Linked DNA regions of Homo sapiens: all the other regions are linked to region 3. The links are contacts of gene promoters, found by promoter capture Hi-C in blood cells and fetal thymus (Javierre and others, 2016). All regions are on one chromosome and are shown on one strand. The core of a region is centred on a gene start or on the middle of the fragment in contact, and the rest is flanking DNA. Distances in the headings are between cores, read along the strand shown. Region 1 overlaps LARS1 (leucyl-tRNA synthetase 1). Region 2 overlaps LARS1 (leucyl-tRNA synthetase 1). Region 3 holds the start of TCERG1 (transcription elongation regulator 1). Region 4 overlaps LARS1 (leucyl-tRNA synthetase 1).

Evidence for each region. Contacts are between HindIII fragments. The CHiCAGO score rates a contact against its expected background, and 5 or more counts as called.
Region 1: a contact is called between a fragment that was not itself captured here and the fragment with the promoter of TCERG1 in region 3, in 8 of 17 cell types (activated CD4 T cells, monocytes, total B cells and 5 more). The highest score is 6.8, in activated CD4 T cells.
Region 2: a contact is called between a fragment that was not itself captured here and the fragment with the promoter of TCERG1 in region 3, in 3 of 17 cell types (activated CD4 T cells, naive CD8 T cells and naive B cells). The highest score is 6.1, in activated CD4 T cells.
Region 4: a fragment that was not itself captured here is called in contact with the fragment with the promoter of TCERG1 in region 3 in 9 of 17 cell types (fetal thymus, naive B cells, activated CD4 T cells and 6 more); the score reaches 9.1 in fetal thymus.

What each region holds. Positions count from the first base shown.
Region 1 is chr5:146,150,492-146,155,956 of GRCh38, reverse strand. LARS1 (leucyl-tRNA synthetase 1) reads left to right here. Exons shown (of 32, transcript NM_020117.11): 11 at 1,977-2,064; 12 at 2,147-2,223; 13 at 2,730-2,783; 14 at 3,955-4,095. Among named protein-coding and RNA genes, the nearest start is that of LARS1, 29 kb to the left of the region's middle. RefSeq lists an enhancer at 4,323-4,492. The HindIII fragment of the contact is 3,408 bases long and covers 2,417-5,465 here.
Region 2 is chr5:146,132,514-146,137,365 of GRCh38, reverse strand. It overlaps LARS1 (leucyl-tRNA synthetase 1), which reads left to right. Exons shown (of 32, transcript NM_020117.11): 22 at 1,702-1,765; 23 at 4,285-4,468. Among named protein-coding and RNA genes, the nearest start is that of PLAC8L1, 29 kb to the right of the region's middle. RefSeq lists an enhancer at 4,038-4,207. The HindIII fragment of the contact is 2,354 bases long and covers 2,372-4,725 here.
Region 3 is chr5:146,444,247-146,449,242 of GRCh38, reverse strand. It overlaps TCERG1 (transcription elongation regulator 1), which reads right to left and starts at 1,910. Exons shown (of 23, transcript NM_001382548.1): 1 at 1,835-1,910. The coding sequence starts at 1,893. RefSeq lists a silencer at 1,542-1,621 and an enhancer at 1,540-2,247. The HindIII fragment of the contact is 4,342 bases long and covers 325-4,666 here.
Region 4 is chr5:146,166,582-146,171,961 of GRCh38, reverse strand. It overlaps LARS1 (leucyl-tRNA synthetase 1), which reads left to right. Exons shown (of 32, transcript NM_020117.11): 4 at 1-52; 5 at 3,697-3,834. Among named protein-coding and RNA genes, the nearest start is that of LARS1, 13 kb to the left of the region's middle. RefSeq lists a cis regulatory region at 857 and enhancers at 773-942, 2,173-2,342. The HindIII fragment of the contact is 9,737 bases long and covers 1-5,380 here.

The DNA of each region.
Region 1 (5,465 bases), core at 2,871-5,370, 300 kb after region 3:
GTACCACAATTTACTTAACCATTCTCTATTAATGGATATTTGAATTGTTTCCTGCCTTTTTCTTTTAAAAGCAGCACTGCCACATCTCTTTAGTTCCTAATGTTGGAATTTTGTCTGAGAAGTTCTTGGGAACAGTATTAGGGACATACATGTTTTCCTATTCTTAATGCAACTTTTCTCCCTGTTAATTTGAGCAAATTCTGGCGTGAGGGACATGGATGTTATAAATTGCAAAATAGTTTCAACATTTAAAATGGTTATAATATTTAGCTGTCATCCATATGACTGCAAATTCTATAAAGGCAGGTTATAAGTACATATATGAATAAAGAGGGGTGGGTGGGAATTATGTGGAAAGGAAAAGTGTGTTCCTTAGCTAGAGCAAGAAGCTGCAAATTCTTTGTTGCCATCTGAGAATTTGGGTCTAAAATTGCTTAATCTTTTGGATTTTTTCAAGTGAAATTAGAACTATCCTTTTACTTTGTCTTCATAACTACTATTTTAAATAGATGTATAGTACCCATTCTTGTTCTTGTAACATATTTTGTTAAATCATTTTTTCTATCATTGAAAGCTTTAGTTGTTTCCAGGCTTTCCTAGTATAATTAACTCAGCATTGGGTAGACTTGTTTAAGAAAAAATAATTAGTTGTTGTTGAGTCTGAGTTACATGAACATTTTGTGGCTTTTGCTGTGGATTCCTATATTTTCTTCAAGGAGTACAATGTCACAAACAATGTATTAGTGTACTCATGTCATAATATTGACAGATTTAGTTATTATAATTATTAAAAATTATTTTTCCGGGACGGGCACGGTGGCTCATGCCTGTAATGCCAGCACTTTGGGAGGCAGAGGTGCGTGGATCACCTGGGGTCAGGAGTTCAAGACCAGCCTGGCCAACATGGTGAAACCCTGTCTCTACTAAAAATACAGAAATTAGCCAGGCGTGGTGGTGCATGCCTGTAATCCCAGCTACATGGGAGGCTGAGGCAGGAATCGCTGGAACCTGGGAGGCGGAGGTTGCAGTGAGCCGAGATCATGCCATTGCACTCCAGCTTGAGTAACAAGAGCAGAACTCCATCTCAAAAAAAAAATTATTTTTCCTCTAGTAGGTATAAAATAATGTGTTTTGTTTTACTTCATATGTATTTTATTTATATTCTTTTCTTTATTTTTTGAGACGGGGTCTCCCTCTGTCACCCAGGCTGGAGTGCAGTGGCACGATCTTGGCTCACTACAACCTCCACCTCTCGGGTTCAAGCAATTCTCCCGCCTCAGCCTTCCAAATAGCTGGGACTACAGGCGCATGCCACCACGCCTGGCTAATTTTTTGTATTTTAGTAGAGACGGGGTTTCACCATGTTGCCCAGGCTGGTCGCGAACTCCTAAGCTCAGGCAATCTGCCTGCCTCAGCATCCCAAAGTGCTGGGTTTACAGGCGTTAGCCACCGCGCTCAGCCTGTATTCATTTTTTAATTGACAGAAATTGTATTTATGGTACGCAATATGTTTTGAAATATATATACATTGTGAAATGGCTAAATTGAGGTAATTAACAAATTTATACCTTACGTACTTACCATTTTCTGTGGTGAGAAGAGTTAAAATTTAAATCAGGTGCAGTGGTATGCACCTGTAGAGCCAGCTACTTGGGAGGCTGGGACCTCAGGAGGCTTGCCTGAGCCCAGGAGCTTGAGCCTGTAGAATGCTATGATAGCACCTGTGAATAGCCTCTACACTCTAGCCTTGGCAACATAGCAAGGCTCTGTCTCTTAAAAAAATCTACACAGCAATTTTCAAGTATAAAATACATTGTTATTTCCTATAGTCACCATATTGTACAATATAGCTCTTGAATTTATTTCCATATATTTTTGATTACTAGCTTCTCAGGGCTTAAAATATTAACATAGTTTTAATTCTAATGGTCACAATGAATTACTTCACCTTTTATATTGATTTTTTTCTTATGCAGGAAATTCTTGGTGCATCACTTTCTGCACCTTTAACATCATACAAGGTGATCTATGTTCTCCCAATGCTAACTATTAAGGAGGATAAAGGTAAAGAGTTTATTTATTTCTAGAAATATTTTGATAAACACATTTTGGTTCTAGTTATTAATTCCACACTTTGTTTTCTAAGGCACTGGTGTGGTTACAAGTGTTCCTTCCGACTCCCCTGATGATATTGCTGCCCTCAGAGACTTGAAGAAAAAGCAAGTAAGTATCTGAGTTTCATGTTTGTATTTCGTCCTCACCATCTCATTGCTTAGGTGCTGCTGAACTACGCTGTGGGACTAGGCTAAAAAGCTATGCATTTATCTTTAAACTGCTATCTCTAACTTGTTTCTTGATGTTAATATATTTTCTGTGGTTTGAATTTTAAATATGTTCACAGAATTTTGAAAAAGCTTTCTGATATTCACATTTTCATTGAAATCTGGCATATGAACCTCAATTTAAGTGATATGTGTATGTCTATGTACATTTTTGCTTTTGGTTGTGTGGTTTCATTTAGGCTATTCACTATAACTTTAGCTATTAAATTTTTGAAGGTTACAGATCCCTTTTGAGATATTTGGCAAAGTTAGAAAATTGCTCTCTATGGAGAGGAGAACAAATAGAAACTTTAAAGAAACTTTTAAGAAACTTTGGAGATTGCTTCTCTCAATGATTCTCCCAGTAAAGTGTTGATCATTAGTGTTAACTTGCAAATTTTTCTGTAGGCCTTACGAGCAAAATATGGAATTAGAGATGACATGGTCTTGCCATTTGAGCCGGTGAGTACATAGATAATTCAGAATATTCACATCCATCTCTTTATCAGAGAAAAAGAAGAGCTAACATGTTTTCCTTATAACAAAATTAATTGGTGGAGTATGAAAAAGAGAGTTTGCTTAAGGATTTACTCACTTTAATTTGATACCTGCTATGGTAGATAAGAGCAAAAGGAAAACTAACAAGCATTTTCTTACCACCTGGCACCTGCAGTTCTGGAACAAATAGCTTTTTAGCATCACCAATTTTATAGTAGCTTGCTTTGCTAGTGTGATCAATTTCCTGGCTTCTAAAGATAAAATTTTGCCCTTTTCATGAATGTTTATATGTAACCATAATAACTTTAACAAAGTCCTGTACAACTCTGTTTTATGTTTCTTGTATTTTCATGTTAGTATCTATAGAAGAAAAACTTTTAAATTACTAGCAAATGATTTTCATTTCATGAAAGATCCAGAGGAATTAATATAAACCAAAAGCACAACCATCCATGAATCTAGTTGTTTACATCAGCAGGCCCCAACCTTTTTGGCACCAGGGACTGGTTTTGTGGAAGACAATTTTTCCATGGACCAGCAGGGTGTGGTAGGGGAATGGTTTTGGCATGAAACTGTGCCACCTTAGATCATCAGGCATTAGATTCTCATAAGGAGCAAGCAACCTAGATCCCTCCATGCACAGTTCACAATAGGGTTCGTGCTTCTATGAGAATCTAATGCCACCCATGATCTGACAGGAGGTGAAGCTCAGGGGGTGATGCTCGCCCGTTCCTCACCTCCTGCTGTGCAGCCTGGTTCCTAATGCCATGGACTGGTACCGGTCCACATCCTTGGGGTTGGGAACCCCTGGTTTACATCATTTTGCTAGTTTCAGTATGAATTACTTAGGTAATTATATGCCAGTGGAGGATAGAGTGTTGGGAAAGGTGTGTGTGGTGGGGGAAGGGCATTGGGGGTGTTGGTACACAGAGTATGGGTGGTTCCTGTGGAGAGTAGAAGGACAAATTTACATCTGGAAGTTAGTCACTCTGTGATTACTTAATGTGTGGCAGTGTCGTAATGACATATACAATCTGAAATGACTTAATTGGACATTAGAGGCAAAAGGACTTGTGCCCTACAGAGCTGTGTGTCCAGTCAGTGTGAACACGTTCCTGATTGCTGTTTGCTGCAGGTGCCAGTCATTGAAATCCCAGGTTTTGGAAATCTTTCTGCTGTAACCATTTGTGATGAGTTGAAAATTCAGAGCCAGAATGACCGGGAAAAACTTGCAGAAGCAAAGGAGAAGATATATCTAAAAGGATTTTATGAGGGTGTAAGTAATAATTTTTTTTAGTTTTTATTTGCTTTACTCCATGCTCTGTGATTTTCTTAATTAGAAAAAATGTAGAAAAATTTAACATAGTTTCAGCTATACATTGATTTGAGAGCTTAATATGAGAATGTATTCTATTTCCAAATTTCTAATTTTTGTTTTTATCATGTCCTTTGCCTAAAAGCATTTTCAGAAATTGTCTTTTTCGTGCCCTCTAGGAATCTCTATGGAGTGAATTTCTTGACAAGATATTTCAAATTAGTTCATATTATTATGCAGTAAACTTCAAAGATTTATTGAATGGAGAATACCTGGTCCCTTCTTTTGCTCTTTTAGTTAAGGAGTTCATATTTTAGATAAGCAGTTTTATTCAGTCCATTAATTTATTTATTAATGTCTACTAAATGCCAGGTGAGTTCAACAAACATGTTCTGAACCATTCTTTTCTCCTAATTGTGCATATGTTAATGTGGTTTATATTTCCATGGAAAGAAGGCTAGGCTAGAGAACATAAAAATCCAAACAAGTTATTAGGTGCTTCAGAGTCAAATGAAGATTTTTAAGGACATCAACAAGAATGTTTTTTAGTTTAGCTTTCCTACATTTTTCTGGATAACCAAGAATTGGTTACATTTCTTTTTTTTGAAGTGACACATATTTTGAATGATGATAAAAGCAACACTTATGTAGCACTTATATATTAATTTACTTAATTCTGAAAATAACCCCATTCTGAAGTAGGCACTCTTATCTCCAATTTACGGATGAGGAAATGGAGGCACAAAGAGATTATTAACTGATTTACTTGAGATTAGCCAGATAGTTAGCCAGTGGGAACTGGAATTCAAACTAGGTAGCCTGGCTCTGGGATTTACATTTGTGTGTGTGTGTGTGTGTGTGTGTGTGTGTGTGTGTGTGTCTATCTGACGGAGTCTTGCTCTGTCTCACAGGCTGGAGTGCGGTGGCTCAATCTCAGCTCACTGCAGCCTCCAACTTCCGGGTTCAAGCGATTCTCCTGCCTCAGACTCCTGAGTAGCTGGGACTACAGGCACGTGCCACCATGACCAGCTAATTTTTGTATTTTTAGTAGACACGAGGATTTCACCATATTGGTCAGACTGGTCTCGAACTCCTGACCCCAAGTGATCTGCCCACCTTGGCCTCCCAAAGTGCTGGGAGTATAGGCTTGAACCACTGCACCTGGCCAGATTTGTGTTCTTTTTTTTTTTTTTTTTGAGACGGAGTCTTGCTGTGTCGCCCAGGCTGGAGTGGAGTGGCTCAATCTTGGCTCACTGCGACCTCTGCTTCCTGGGCTCAAGCAGTTCTCCTGCCTCAGCCTCCTGAGTAGCTGGGATTACAGGCCCCTGCCA
Region 2 (4,852 bases), core at 2,299-4,798, 310 kb after region 3:
CCTACTTGACTTAAAAAAAAAAGTACAAAATTATTTATTCCTCATTAATAAAAATGGTAACAAATTAGATTTGTTACAACCAGTGAATTTTGCTGTAACCAACAGAATAGCAATGACTGTATTAGTTGTCATAAGTGTCTATATGTCATAATGAAAATAGTTGTAGGGGACTGGGCGCGGTGACTCACGCCTATAATCCCAGCACTTTGGGAGGCCAAGGCGGGTGGATCACCTGAGGTCAGGAGTTCAAGACCAGCCTGGCCGATGTGGTGAAACTCCATCTCTACTAAAAGTACAAAAAATTAGCTGGGCCTGGTTGTGGGCGCCTGTAATCCCAGCTGCAGGCTGAGGCAGGAGAATCGCTTGAACCCGAGAGGCAGAGGTTACAGTGATTTGAGAACGTGCCATTGCACTCAGGCCTTGCGCGACAAGAGTGAAACTGCATCTCAAAAAAAGGGAAAAAGGAGAAAATAGTTGTAGCTTTAAACAAATGGCAGCTGATGTAAATTGCATTATGTAACATCAGACTTAGCCTGTGCCCTAATATTGAAAGGTAATAAAAGATGTTCCTTTAAGATAATCTGTGGCCGGGTGCGGTGGCTCACGCCCGTTAATTGCAGCACTTTGGGATGCCAGGGCGGGCAGATCACGAGGTCAGGAGTTAGAGACCAGCCTGACCAACATGGTGAAACCCCGTCTCTACTAACAGTACAAAAATTAGCTGGGCATGATGGTGCGCGCCTGTAATCCCAGCTACTCAGGAGGTTGAGGTAAGAGAATCCCTTGAACCGAGGGAGGCGGAGGTTGCACTGAGCCAAGATTGCGCCACTGCACTCCAGCCTGGGTAACAGAGCAAGACTCCATCTCAAAAAAAAAAAAAAAATAGGTAATCTGTATATTAGACTGAAAAACTGCTGTTTAGAAGCACAGGCGATTTTAATAGATTTTGTTAGCTCAATAAGGAACCTTTGATTATTGAACTCATTTCTTCTTTGTAAGTCAAAGAAGAACAATACATTTATTATTCTTGTTAGAACATGACATTTTCTTTGGCTGTCTGAAAGTTGTTGTACTATCCTGATTTTATTAGAACAAGATATGTATTGCCATGTAGTATAATAGAAAACTGATATAATCATCATTTCCTTCTGATATCAGCATAGTTAAACTAATGACATACAATTTTAAAGCGATAAAGATTGCTAGGCTGTGAGTGGTGCCTCTTCCGATGCATTGCCCTAAGGCAGAGCACAACTTGAACAACCGATTTTTGTGACCCTAATGATAGGAGGGTTCCTAAAATCATAACTCCAACCTCATGAGCTGGTCCATTCCATTTCTGAATGATTCTAATTGCCGTAAAGCTCTTTCTTAGGTAACCAGGTGGTGTTCTAGAGTTATAGTGGAATCATTACACATGTCTAACCCAGACAGTATAGGCTAAATCACAGTGGACTGAGTGTGAGTCTGGAGGTCCTCTCCTAGCTGTGTCACTGATAGCTGAGTAACCCAAACAAGGCACTTTATCGGATGAAATTCAGTTTTCACCGCTCTAAAATTAGTGTAATATCTTTTCCTTTCCGTATTTTGAATTCTTTTTTGTTTTTATCTGGTCATGGCCAACCTAGTTAATTTTATTTGGCTCATTTGGTTTATTTATATTACTGTTATTAATGATTGATCACTGACTCTCTATTTCAGATGTCAAAATCCACAGGCAACTTCCTCACTTTGACCCAAGCTATTGACAAATTTTCAGCAGATGGTGAGTAAACATTTTTCTTATTGCTGTTCTGTAGGGTCCAGTTCTCAGATTATAGAAGACACGTTAAAATTGGTGTTTTAATTTTACTTTCTGTTTTGCTTTTAACAAAATTTTAAAATCTTAATGTTTCCTTTGTGGATGAGCAACATAATATTTAATATATAAGAATTGCTGACATGATGTGTTCAGGAACAAATCAAGCTGAAGTTAGTTTGAGTCTTCCTTTAATGAACTCAATATCATTGCTAAGATTCAAGACTTGTTTTGTAGAGATGTTGAGTATGGGCCAAGCGCGGTGGCTCACGCCTGTAATCCCAGCACTTTGGGAGGCCGAGGTGGGTGTATCACCTGAGGTCAGGAGTTCAAGACCAGCCTGGCCAACATGGTGAAATCCTGTCTCAACTAAAAATACAAAAAAAAAAAAAAAAATTAGCTGGGTGTGGTGGCAGGTGCCTGTAATCCAGGCTACTTTGGGAGGCTGAGGCAGGAGAATCGCTTGAACCCGGGAGGCGGAGGTTGCAGTGGGCTGAGATTGCATTGCACTCCAGCTTAGGCAACAAGAGTGAAACTCTGTCTCAAAAAAAAATGTTGAGTATGTAGGAAGCTTTTCCAAGATATTTCCTCTGTATTTGGTATTCCATTCTTATTAACTGAGACAGAGTCTTGCTCTGTCACCCAGGCTGGAGTACAGTGGCATGATCTTGGCTCACTGCAACCTCCATCTCCAGGGTTCAAGCGATTCTTGTGCCTCAGCCTCTCAAATAGCTGGGATTACAGGCATGTGCCTGCACGCTTGGCTAATTTTTGTATTTCTAGTAGAGACGGGGTTTTGCCTTGTTGGCCAGGCTGGTCTTGAACTCTTGGCCTCAAGTGATCCACCCTCCTTGGCCTTCCAAAGTGCTGGGATTATAGGCATGAGCCACCATGCCTGGCCTGTATTTGGTATTCCTAAATGTGTCTTGAACCTGGGAACATTGATTTTTTCAGAAAATTGTTTTTTTGTCTGGCCTCAGTCCTATTACATTTTATTATTATCGTGTCAAGAGAAGAAATGCACTATCCTGAAAGAACCATTCATTTCTTATATAATTAGTCATTGGTCATCATGGTACTTCTTTTTATTGGTCATGGCTAACTCAGTTTGTGTTCTCAGTATTTTGACTGGACACCAAAGCCAAAGACGGAACTGTATCCAAATAATATAGTTAGTCTGTTTCTTACAAGATATATAAGCAATTATGAAACCACTTTATGTATATATTAGGATTGAATAAATAAGTAAACAGGTAGATAATGAGAACCTCTGCCTCACAGAGCTCACTATCAGAAAAAGAAGCTATAAATAAGTAAAGAGAAAATGCTAGAATGAGCCCTATGGGGTCAGATTGGATTTGGTGATAAAAGTATGAGCTCATGATTTTTATTTTGTGTATAGATATGTAGATATAAAACTAAACAGCTGGGTGTGGTGGCTCACACTTGTAATCCCAGCACTTTGGGAGGCTGAGGTGGGCAGTTTACCTGAGATCGGGAGTTTCAGACCAGCCTGACCAACATGGAGAAACCCTGTCTCTATTAAAAGTACAAAATTAGCCGGGCGTGGTGGCGCATGCCTGTAATCCCAGCTACTCAGGAGGCTGAGGCAGTAGAATTGCTTGAATCCAAGAGGCGGAGGTTGCACTGAGCCGAGATCGCGCCATTGCATTCTATCTTGGGCAACAAGAGCGAAACTCCATCTCAAACAAACAAACAAAAAACATAGATATGTGTATGTATGGGTTAGTATACAAATATGAACTGTTAAGTGGAAAAGGCAAAGTGCAGAACCTGAATGCTTTGATTGGACACCAAAGCTAAAGACGGAAATAACTACATAATGAGTTCCCTCTTTTTTTTTTTTTTTTTTTTGCAACCCTATAGTGTTCCATTGTAGGGATATCCTACAGTTTAATTGATGGACATTTAGGTTCTTTTTTTCAATATTTTAGAATGGAAGATTTTGGTAGTACTGAGAGATGAGAATTGAAAAAGTAAAGTTTTATTAGTGATAAACTTGTAAGAACCTAGTTTCAAAACTGAGAAAAATTCATATGCATTTGTACACATAAGGCACCAGTGTGTATTCTCATGTATTAAAATGTATTTTGCTACCTCTAAATGAGGCTGAAATGTTGATAAGAAAACCACAATGAAAGGTGTGTCTTTATCCCCACTTTATCATTTTCTATCTCTGCCTCATTAAAGATCACTTTATCTCATTAACTCAACATGCCTGAGAAGAAACACATATTGGTGCTTAGTGGATGCAAATCAATATGGATGGTTCGAATATTTTAACATCACGGTTAGGGATGCTACTTTTTGGTGATTTTAATTTTTGTTGTTGATCCAGGACAGTCCTTTAAAGCATTTGTTAATTTATATATGGGCTTTGCAAGGTATCCAACTGGACACATAGGACACAGTTGATACTCAGTAACCATATTTTTAATGCATTGAATTTTTTTTTCTTCTTCCAGGAATGCGTTTGGCTCTGGCTGATGCTGGTGACACTGTAGAAGATGCCAACTTTGTGGAAGCCATGGCAGATGCAGGTATTCTCCGTCTGTACACCTGGGTAGAGTGGGTGAAAGAAATGGTTGCCAACTGGGACAGCCTAAGAAGTGGTCCTGCCAGCACTTTCAATGATAGAGTTTTTGCCAGGTAATCTGTAGATCCCAATCATTTTGTGTTTTAGAGTTACTTAGTCCTGGTGCATTTTTGTTTTCTTTTTCTTTTCTTTTCTTTTTTTTTTTTAATAAAATAAACTAATGATAATAATAGCTAGTGTTCATTGAAGGCTTACTTGTGCCGGGTACTATGCTAAGTATTTTGTGTCCATTATCTGACTTTAACCTCAAAGCAACCTTATTTAATACAGATATTATTAGCTCTATTTTATAAATAAAGAAACTGAAGCTTAGAACAATTAAGTATTTCCTTAAATGCCTTAAAGCTAGTAGTTGCAAACTTGGGATATGAACTTGCTTCTGTCTGTCTTGAAAGTCTGTTCTCATAACCATTTTACCATGTTGTCTTGTTTTCGAG
Region 3 (4,996 bases), core at 661-3,160:
TTTATTTACAACATAACTACAGAACATCTCATTTGCCAGGCGGTTATGACAGACACACCATGAAGTACATTCAGGTTACAAATATAATGCAAAAATTAAGCCCCAACTTCTGCCATCAAAGAGGCCACATACACACCTAATTTCATGAGAAATGCTAAAATAAAGATCTGTACAGTATGCTCTGCAAGCAACTTCCAATCCAAGAGGCTACGGTATAAAATATTTGCAACAGGGCAAATTCATTTGCAAATTAAAGCTCTATTCAAATCAGTTGTGCAACAGTGTCTAGACTATTAATAAAGCCATTTGGATTTTTTTAAAGCTTTAGAAAGATACTTTCTAAAATGCAAAAGAATGTTCCCTAATAAATCCATCTGAAACTAGCTAAGTAACCTCCCTTTAAGATCGAAATCAGGAATAAACTTGGCATCGCTAATATTTAAAGATGCTGACAATTCACCTTGATCACTCATTAATACTGTATACATATGGAGTTTAAAGGATTTCAGATTCATCTCTGAAATAAAACAAAATTTCATTTCTGCCAAAGTGGAGATTTGTGTGTGCGACCATACAGAATCTGAAAGGCATTTTCCTCTTCTAAAACCTTGAATAACAATACCCATTTCCTTACACAATTTCATCTTAAGTTCAAGACAGTATCAACAGAGTCTTCATAATCTACCCTGCTCTTTTTCATTTTCAAACGTTGACAACAGCACAATTCAGAATGGGAGCTGAACATCTGAAATGCCATTTCTCCCATACAGAAAAAAACCAAAGTACCAAATACACATAAAGCATAATACCTCTTTTCCTCAAAAACCACTGACCAAAAGATTTCTCCAGGTCACTCTCATTTTACCAAATTTTAATTACAAACTCATAGACACTGAGGTTCCAGGGGAAAAAAAGGTCACTGCACTGTTCAAGGAAATGGCATGAGTAGTAGACGAATAGAACGCCAATTGGGATTGCAGGCTCTGAAACCTGACTGCCTGAGTTCAAGCCACTTCCTGGAGCCACAAATCCGCCTATGCAATCTTATTCTACTGACTCAACCTCCACGAGGCTGTTATCTCACCTGTAAGATGGGCGAGTAACAACTGAAGACCCCTCTGGTCTGTGGCCTGCAAAATGTTAATAGCAACTACTCCAAAGGGTGGTTGTGAGGATTAAATGAGACAAACCTAAGTAAAGGGTTTACTGGCACACGGTAAGTGCCTAATAAGGGGTTGCTACTGTTGTTGTTACTCACAACTACAGGATAATAAGGAATAAAGGGATGAAAAAAGGAAGAAAAGCCACAGAAGTTAAGAAAGGCAAGCAATGAGGGGGATGAAATGAAAGGGCAAACGTGGGGAGCCCAAAGAGCCGCGGAGGGCGTGGAGAAGGCTTAGCCAGAAGTGGCGAGGGGTACAGGGAAAGTAACTGCGGAGTGCAGAGACGTCGATGAGGAAAATCAGGCCCGCAGCGGAGCGCGGCCTGGGGACAGACTCAGGTCGGCCGAGACGGAGGCGACACGCGGCTGAGGCGGGGCCCAAAGGCGGGAGCACCGCGCCCGGCCAGAGGGCTGCAGGCCGCGAGAGGCGGCGAGGCCCCAAGAAAGCACTAGGAAGCAGCCAGGGAACGCGCAGGAGGCCCTGGCCCAGCCCGGGCCCGGCTCTCATTCAAGCCACCTTCCCCTTCCCCCTTCTTAAACCCCATGCGGTCCCGGCCCGGGCCGCCCGGCTCCGCTACCCACCGTCCGCCCCGGATCTCCACATGGCAGGTCTAGCGTCTAGCCTCTGGGGCTCTCGTGAGCAGAGATGTGAAGGAGGGCAGCGTTCCTTACCTGAGCTCCCCCGGGTTGAATCGTTCACTCTCGCCCCCGTCCCCGCCACGCTCCGCCATTACAGAGGGCCGCGTTCATCCACCCGCCGACCCGACGTCTCCTATTGGCTAGAAAAATCGTCAATCCCCAACGAGAGAGGCGGAGACAGCAGAAGTCTGAGATGCGGTTGGTCAAACTTTCCATCAATCTTCGAAATGGGGGCGATATGTTCTTTGCTATTGGGCAAGGCGCCCGCCGACTTTGAAAGCGGTATGAAGACAGCCAGTTGATTGGTGACTCGGGGGCTTTATGGGAAATGAGATTTTAGCAGTGAGGAACCGCCGGCGCCCTCTCGCGGTAAGCAGAACTAAGTCCTCCCAAGTTCGGCTCAGCCTGCGGTAGCCACGTGTCTGTCGGCTTCCAGGAGAGCCAATTGTGGAGCCATATTGGCCAGTAGTAGCTCAGGCGGAGAGCATTTCCACTGGGCAAGCCAATCAAAATCGACCTGGGCCGCGCCTAAACCGATTGCACAGTTGCTGTGGAAAGCCGCTATTTCCTAGCTTTACAGTAGCAGGAGTCTTAAGTCACCACTCAGCTCTATATCCATGTTATTAAATAATATATTATTAATTACAAGAATACCTCCCAAATTATACTAAACCGTTGCAAGCCAATAGGTGTTATAAGTTGCTGCATTAAGAAAGGTAAATTGGCGAAGGCAAGCCTCTTTGCAATTTACAGCTTAACCACGTCTCCCTCGATCTCAAAATGTGCTTGTCTGAAATTAGCACACCCAGAATACCAGACAATTCTGAATATTTATTTAGTTTTTCTAATTAACAAAAAAAAAAGTTTTGGATTTGGGGTTTCAAAGGCACAATGAAGATGAGCCCTTTTATTAAAGTCGTAAAAATATTAAAATAATACTAATAGATAAATTTTACTTGGACCTAACCATGTAGCAAACCCGGATCTAAGTATGTCAGGTACGTTAACTCTTTTAAGATTCAAAAATTGCTAGGAGGTGGGTAACATAGTCACTGTTTGTAGATGAGCTTGAGGCACAGAGAAGTTAAGTAACTTGCCCAAGGTCACACATCTACTAAATAGCAGAGCCTGGTCTTAACCCCAGTCAGCGTAGTAGCAAAGCAGCACTCTTAAATACTGTAAGCCTAAATAATTGGATCCACATAAAAACATGTGCACAAATGTTCACAGCAGCAATATTCATAATAGCCAAAAAGTATTGTAACAACCCAATGACCATCAGCTGATGCATGGTTAAGAAGCATGGTATAGGCCGGGCGCGGTGGCCCAAACCTGTAATCCCAGCACTTTGGGAGGCCTAGACGGGCGGATCACGAGGTCAGGAGATCAAGACCATCCTGGCTCACACGGTGAAACCCTGTCTCTACTAAAAACAAATAGCCCGGCGTGGTGGCGGGCGCCTGTAGTCCCAGCTACTCGGGAGGCTGTGGCAGGAGAATGGCGTGAACCCCGGAGGCAGAGCTTGCAGTGAGCAGAGATCGCGCCACTGCACTCCAGCCTGGGCAACAGAGCGAGACTCCGTCTCAAAAAAAAAAGAAACATGGTATAACTGTACAATGAAATATTGTTCAGACATAAAAAGCCACATACAAAAAGGCCGCCTGTTGTATGATTCCATTTACATGAAATATGATGAAATTGCATTGCATTTCAGGCAAATACATACAGACAGAAAGTAGAACAGTGGTTTCCAGGAGGTAGAGGGGAATGAGGAATTGGAAGTGACTGCTGATGGATATGGAATGTCTTTTTGGATGATAAAAATGTTCTGGAATTGGCGCTGATGGTTGCACAACTTTGTGAATATACTAAAACCCATTGAATTCTATACTATTTATTTATTTATTTACTTATTTTGAGAGGGAGTGTCACTCTGTCACCCAGGCTGGAGTGCAGTGGCATGATATCAGCTCACTGCAACCTCCGCCTCCCAGGCTCAAGCGATCCTCACACTTCAGCCTCCCAAGTAGCTCCCACAGGCCTCCGCCACCACATCCAGCTAATTTTTTATATTTTTGGTAAAGACGGGGTTTTGCCATGTTGGCCAGGCTGGTCTTGAACTCCTGAGCTGAAGTGATCTGCCCACCTTGGCCTCCCAAAGTGCTGGGATTACAGGTGTGAGCCACTGCATACAGCCAACTCGTATACTTTAAAAGGTGAATTTTATTGTATGTGAATTATATTTTAATTCAAAAACACCATTCTACACTGAATTCCAGTTAAATATTCAAAATCAATTAAATATGATAAATTGTGATAAAGGCTTCACACAGTTCTGAGCATGAGTAATTGGAGGAGAGCATGGTGAAAATTTTGTTAAAGATGTGACATTTGAGGCTGGGTGTGGTGCCACAGGCCTGTAATCCCAGCACTTTGGGAGGCCAAGGCGGGAGGACTGCTTGAGTTTAGGAGTTTGAAACCAGCCTGAGCAAAATGGTGAGACCTCACCACTACAAAAAATCAAAAATATTAGCCAGGCATTGTGGTGCATGACTGTGGTCCCAGCTACTTGACAGGCAGAGGTGGGAGGGCCGCTTGAGCCCACTTGAGTCGAGGCTACTGTGAGCTGTAATTGCAGCACCGCACTCCAGCGTGGGATACAGAGTGAGACACTGTCTTAAAAAAGAAAAAAAAAAAGGTGTGGCATTTGAACAAACTATAGTTTGACTAAAAGTTGGGAGTTAGATCCCTTTTTCAACATCAGTGTGTATCCCCAAGTTCTGGTCAATATTCTGAAAATAATACTGGTATAGATGGCTCATTACAAACTAATTCCTACTAAAAAAAGATTCAAAATAGAAAGCTTATAGAAAATAAGTCACTAGCATATATAAAAGATGAAAACAGGCCGGGCGCTGTGGCTCACGCCTGTAATTCCAGCACTTTGGGAGGCCGAGGCAGGTGGATCACCTGAGGATTTCGAGACCAGCGTGGCCAACATGGCAAAACCCCGTCTCTACTGAAAAAATACAAAAATTAGCTAGGCATGGTGGCACGTGCCTATAGTCCCAGCTACTTGGGAAGCTGAGGCAGGAGAATCGCTTAAACCTGGGAGGCAGAGGTTGCAGTGAGCTGAGATCTCGCCATTGCACTCCAGCCTGTGTGACAGAGTGAGACTTCATCTCAAATAAAAAA
Region 4 (5,380 bases), core at 2,045-4,544, 280 kb after region 3:
AAAATGTTGTCTGTTTCCCTTTGGCCTGCACTGTACTGGAATGCCTATTAAGGTAAGATCGCTAATAGGATTGGTTTCTACTCTTTTTAGTTGGAGCAAATAGTAATACCCAATTCAAGAGCTTAAAAGGATTTTTAAGTATTGCTGCATTAAAGTATGAAATGAGTTGAATTTATTATAGTGAAAATTAATTTAAAAATAAACAACATGTGAAGAAGTGCTTAAATAAAGGGCATCCATTATGGTCTAAGTGATTACTAAGTGATTTTAATGTCTTTTGGTTACCTTGTGTATTTATGTCTGTATTACAGTTAGGTAATAACTGATTCTGTTTTACTAAAAAGAAAAATGTACAGCCATTGTGCACTTATGACATATGTAAGATGCCGGCATAAAATAATAAACAGTTGTATTGTATTTTGATCATTTTTGCAAATATCTTCATTTGTCATAAGTTTGTATTAGAAATAATTCTCAATGAAGAATAGGAAAGAAAACTAGAGTTGAAAGGATTCCTTTATATAATAGGATTAGGAAATTTAAATCCTATTTCTTTTTATTCTCCAACATTTTATTTTATTTTACTTTATTTTATTTTTTTTTTGAGACGGAGTTTTGCTTTTGTCGTCCAGGCTGCAGTGCAATGGTGTGATCTTGGCTAACTGCAACCTCCTTCTCCTGGGTTCAAGCGATTCTCCTGCCTCAACCTCCCGAGTAGCTGGGATTACAGGCACCCGCCACCACACCTGGCTAATTTTTGTATTTTTAGTAGAGACGAGGTTTCCCCGTGTTGGCTAGGCTGTTCTGGAACTCCTGACCTCAGTTGATCCACCCACCTCGGCCTTCCAAAGTGCTGGGATTACAAGCGTGAGCCACCATGCCCGGCCTTCTGCAACCTTTTATTTTAAAGAATGTCAATCCTACAGAAAAAGTGGAATGGTAGTACAATGAACACCCTCCACCCTTCACCTGTAGTTACAAAGTCTTAACGTTTGCCATATTTGTTTTAGTTCTGTCTCTTAGCACACATGCATGCATGCGTGCTTTTCTCTTTCTTTTTCTTCTTTTTTTTTTTTCTGAGTTGGAGTCTTGCTCTGTCACCCAGGCTGGAGTGCAGTGTTGTACTTTTAGTACAGATGGGGTTTCACCATGTTGGCCAGGCTGGTTTCAAACTCCTGACCTCAGGTAATCTGCCCACCTCGGCCTCCCAAAGTGCTGGGATTACAGGCATGAGCCACCACGCCTAGCCCTTCTCTCTCTCTTTTTCTGTGAACTTTTTGAAAGAAAGTTGCAGATATCATGACGTGTCATTGCTAAATACTTCAGCATGTATTCTAAGAACAAGGGCATTCTTCTACATTATCAGAGTCCTGTTATCCCCTCCAAGAAATTCAACATTGATGTTATATTATCGTCTTCATCTAATCTGTAGTCAAATTTCTGTAGACTCAAAATGTCCTTTCCATCTGTTTTTCCCCCCTTTTTTTTTTTTGAGACGGAATCTTGCTCTGTCACTCAGTCTGGAGTGCAGTGGTGAGATCTTGGCTTGCTGCAACATCTGCCTCCCAAGTTCAAGTGATTCTCTTGCCTCAGCCTCCTGAATATCTGGGATTACAGGTGCCTGCTACCATGCCTGGCTAATGTTTTTTGTATTTTTAGTGTAAACAGGGTTTCACCATGTTGGGCAGGCTGGTCTCGAACTCCTGACCTTAGGTGATCCGCCTGCCTTGGCTTCCCACAGTGCTGAGATTACAGGCTTGACCCACTATGCCCTGCTGTTTTTCACTTTTTATTTTGTGGAGCACACATTGCATGTAATTATCCATTCTTTTCACTGTCTTTTAGTTGTTTGTCGTGATATTGATGTTTTTGAAGTCTAAGCTAGTTATTTTGTAGAATGTCCTATGATATGAGTTTTCTGATTGTTTTTTCATGATTAGGGTTGGGCTAAATATTTTGACAAGAATACTTCATTGTTGAGGTATTAACTTACCATTGTATCACCTCAAAAGCATATAAAATGGTAATTTGTCCCATTTAGTGAAATTAAGTTAATCCTGCCAGGTTTCCTCATTCTAAAGGTGACTTTTCCTCCTATAAAATTAAAAAGTAAGGCCAGACACGGTGGCTCACGCCTGTAATCCCAGCACTTTGGGAGGCCGAGGCAGGAGGATCACATGAGGTCAGGAGTTCAAAACCAGCCTGGCCAACGTGGTGAAACCCCATCTCTACTAAAAATACAAAAATTAGCCGGGCGTGGTGGCAGGTGCCTGTAATTCCAGCTACTTCGGAGGCTATGTCAGGAGAATCGCTTGAACCCGGGAAGTAGAGGTTGCAGTGAGCCGAAACTGCGCCATTGCACTCCAGCCTGGGCAACAAGAGTAAAATTCCATCTCAAAAAAAAAAAAGAAAGAAATTAAAAAGTAATCTATAGGATAACACTTTGAGAGCCTCTGAATGTCCTGTTACTCAATAACCCTGGTTTTATCATCCTTTAATCATCCTTGCCTGTTTTTATTATTCTATTAGTGGTTGAAATTCTTCTGAATAGAAGAGCCTTTTCCATTTAAAAAATTTTTACTTCTGTATTTCTTATTTTTCTCATAACTTTAACAGTGTTTACTTGGTGTCATCTTTGTTTTTGACAGTGGACTCATTGTGGTATAATTGATAAGAGCTAGAGTGGAAAGTCCAAGGTTAAGTCTGTAACTTTGCTAGCTGTATGACCTTGGGTAAATCACTTCATCTCTGTTTGTTTTCTGACTTAAAGCCTATCCTATCTACTTGGTAGGCTTGTGATGATAACTAATAGAGTATATGTGACAGTAATCTATCTTTCTTTCTTTCTTTCTTTCTTGCTGGTGGGATTTTATTTTTGTTTTTATTTATTTTTTATTATTATACTTTAAGTTCTGGGGTACATGTGCACAATGTGCAGCTTTGTTACATGTGTATACATGTGCCATATTGGTGTGCTGCACCCATTAACTCGTCATTTACATTAGGTATATCTCCTAATGCTATCCCTCCCCCCTCCTGACAGTAATCTTTAAATTGAGAAACAATGTTATTAATGTTATCCAAAATGATAACACATTATGTTTCCTACATCTTTATATATCTAATATATATGGTATATAGTATACTATATTGAATATTCTGGGTGTTGAATAAATGTTTTTGAGTAAATTAGGTAAAATACTACTTTATAAATTAGTGAATTTTGAGGTACATGATTTATACCTTTTTTTAATTTAATTTTATTTTTTTGAGACATGGGACTCATTCTTGCTTTGTTGCCCAGGCTAGAGTGCAGTGATGTGATCTCGGCTCACTGCACCCTCTGCCTCTTGGTTTTAAGTGATCCTGTCACCTCAACCTCCCAAGTAGCTGGGATTACAGGCGTGTGCTACCACACCCAGCTAATTTTTATATTTAGTAGAGACATCATGTTGGCCAGGCTGGTCTCGAACTCCTGACAAGTGATCTGCCTGCCTCAGCCTCCCAAGGTGCTGGGATTATAGGCGTGAGCCACTGCTCCCAGCCTCCGTTTCAGTTTTCTGTAGTGGAGCCACATAGGTATCAATATATTGCAAAAAATTTCAGAGTCAATTTTAGTTGGCAATAAAAACAGTAAAAAACTGAAATTGTGTCTACCTTGATTTTGAACTTCATTATCTCTAATATTCGTTGTAGGCATGTGCTGATAAGTTGAAAAGAGAAATAGAGCTGTATGGTTGCCCCCCTGATTTTCCAGATGAAGAAGAGGAAGAGGAAGAAACCAGTGTTAAAACAGAAGATATAATAATTAAGGATAAAGCTAAAGGAAAAAAGGTTTGATAGTGGTTGATATTTATGTTGGTTGAAGTTTTATATTTTTCTGATTTATATGTGCATTCCCAGTACTAGCACAGTGCCCAACACATAAAATGTACTAGATCATTTTTTTAAAGTATCAAAGCAAAAAATTATCTTTCTGGCCAGGCGCGGTGGCTCAAGCCTGTAATCCCAGCACTTTGGGAGGCCGAGGCAGGCAGATCATGAGGTCAGGAGATCGAGACCATCCTGGCTAACATGGTGAAACCCCGTCTCTACTAAAAATACAAAAATTAGCCGGGCGTAAGCCGGTCGTAGGCCGGGCGCGGTGGCTCACGCCTGTAATCCCAGCACTTGGGGAGGCCGAGGCGGGCGGATCATGAGGTCAGGAGATCGAGACCATCCTGGCTAACATGGTGAAACCCCGTCTCTACTAAAAATACAAAAAAATTAGCCGGGCGTGGTGGCTCACGCCTGTAATCCCAGCACTTGGGGAGGCCAAGGCGGGCGGATCACGAGGTCAGGAGATCGAGACCATCCTGGCAAACATGGTGAAACCCCATCTCTACAAAAAATTAGCCGGGCGTGGTGGTGGGCGCCTGTATTCCCAGCTACTCGGGAGGCTGAGGCATCAGAATGGCGTGAACCCTGGAGGTGGAGCTTGCAGTGAGCCCAGATCACGCCACTGCACTCCAGCCTGGGCAACAGAGCGAGACTCTGTCTCAAAAAAAAAAAAAAATTATCTTTCTGACTTTCCTATTTCCTTTTTCCTCTTTTTTGAAGTAATTTTAGATTTACAGAAGAACTGCAAGATAGTATATAGATGTTAAATCTTATATAACTATGATACTATTTTTCAAATTAAGGAATTAACATTAGTACAGTAGTGTTTACTAAACTACAGACTTTTTGGATTTTACCAGTTTTTTCACTAATGTCCTTTTCTCTTCCAATGTCCAATCCAGGATCCCACATTGCAGTTAGTTGTCATGTGTCCTTACTATGTTTCCTTAATCTTTTCTGTCTTTCGTTTTCTTCTATGACCTTTATACTTTTAACGAATACGGGTCAGATAATTATAGATAATGCCTCAGTTTGAGTTTGTTTGATGCTTTCTCATCGTTAGATTGAGGTTATTGATTTGGAGGAAGACTATTAGGTAATTTGTCGTTCTCAAGCGTTAGGGAGTATATGATACTGATATGTCTTATTATTGGTGATGTTAACATTGATCATTTGGTTAAGATGGCGTCTGCCAGGTTTTTCTCCTGTAAAGATTTCATTTTTTTTTAAATAATTAATATATATTTTGGGAGAGATCTTTTGAGGCCATGGAAATAATACTGTGTTTCTTTTTAAATATTTGCTCATTAATTTTAGCATTCATCAGTGGATCTTGCCTACAACAATTATTACTCTAGTCTTCTAATCATGATTTTCCATTTTCCTCTTTCTTTTTACATTTATTATCTATAATTCCTCTGAAAAGAAGAGCTGTCCTTTCTCCCCCACTTACTTAATCTGTCCTTTCTATGTCATATGGATTCATGGATATTCACTTTAT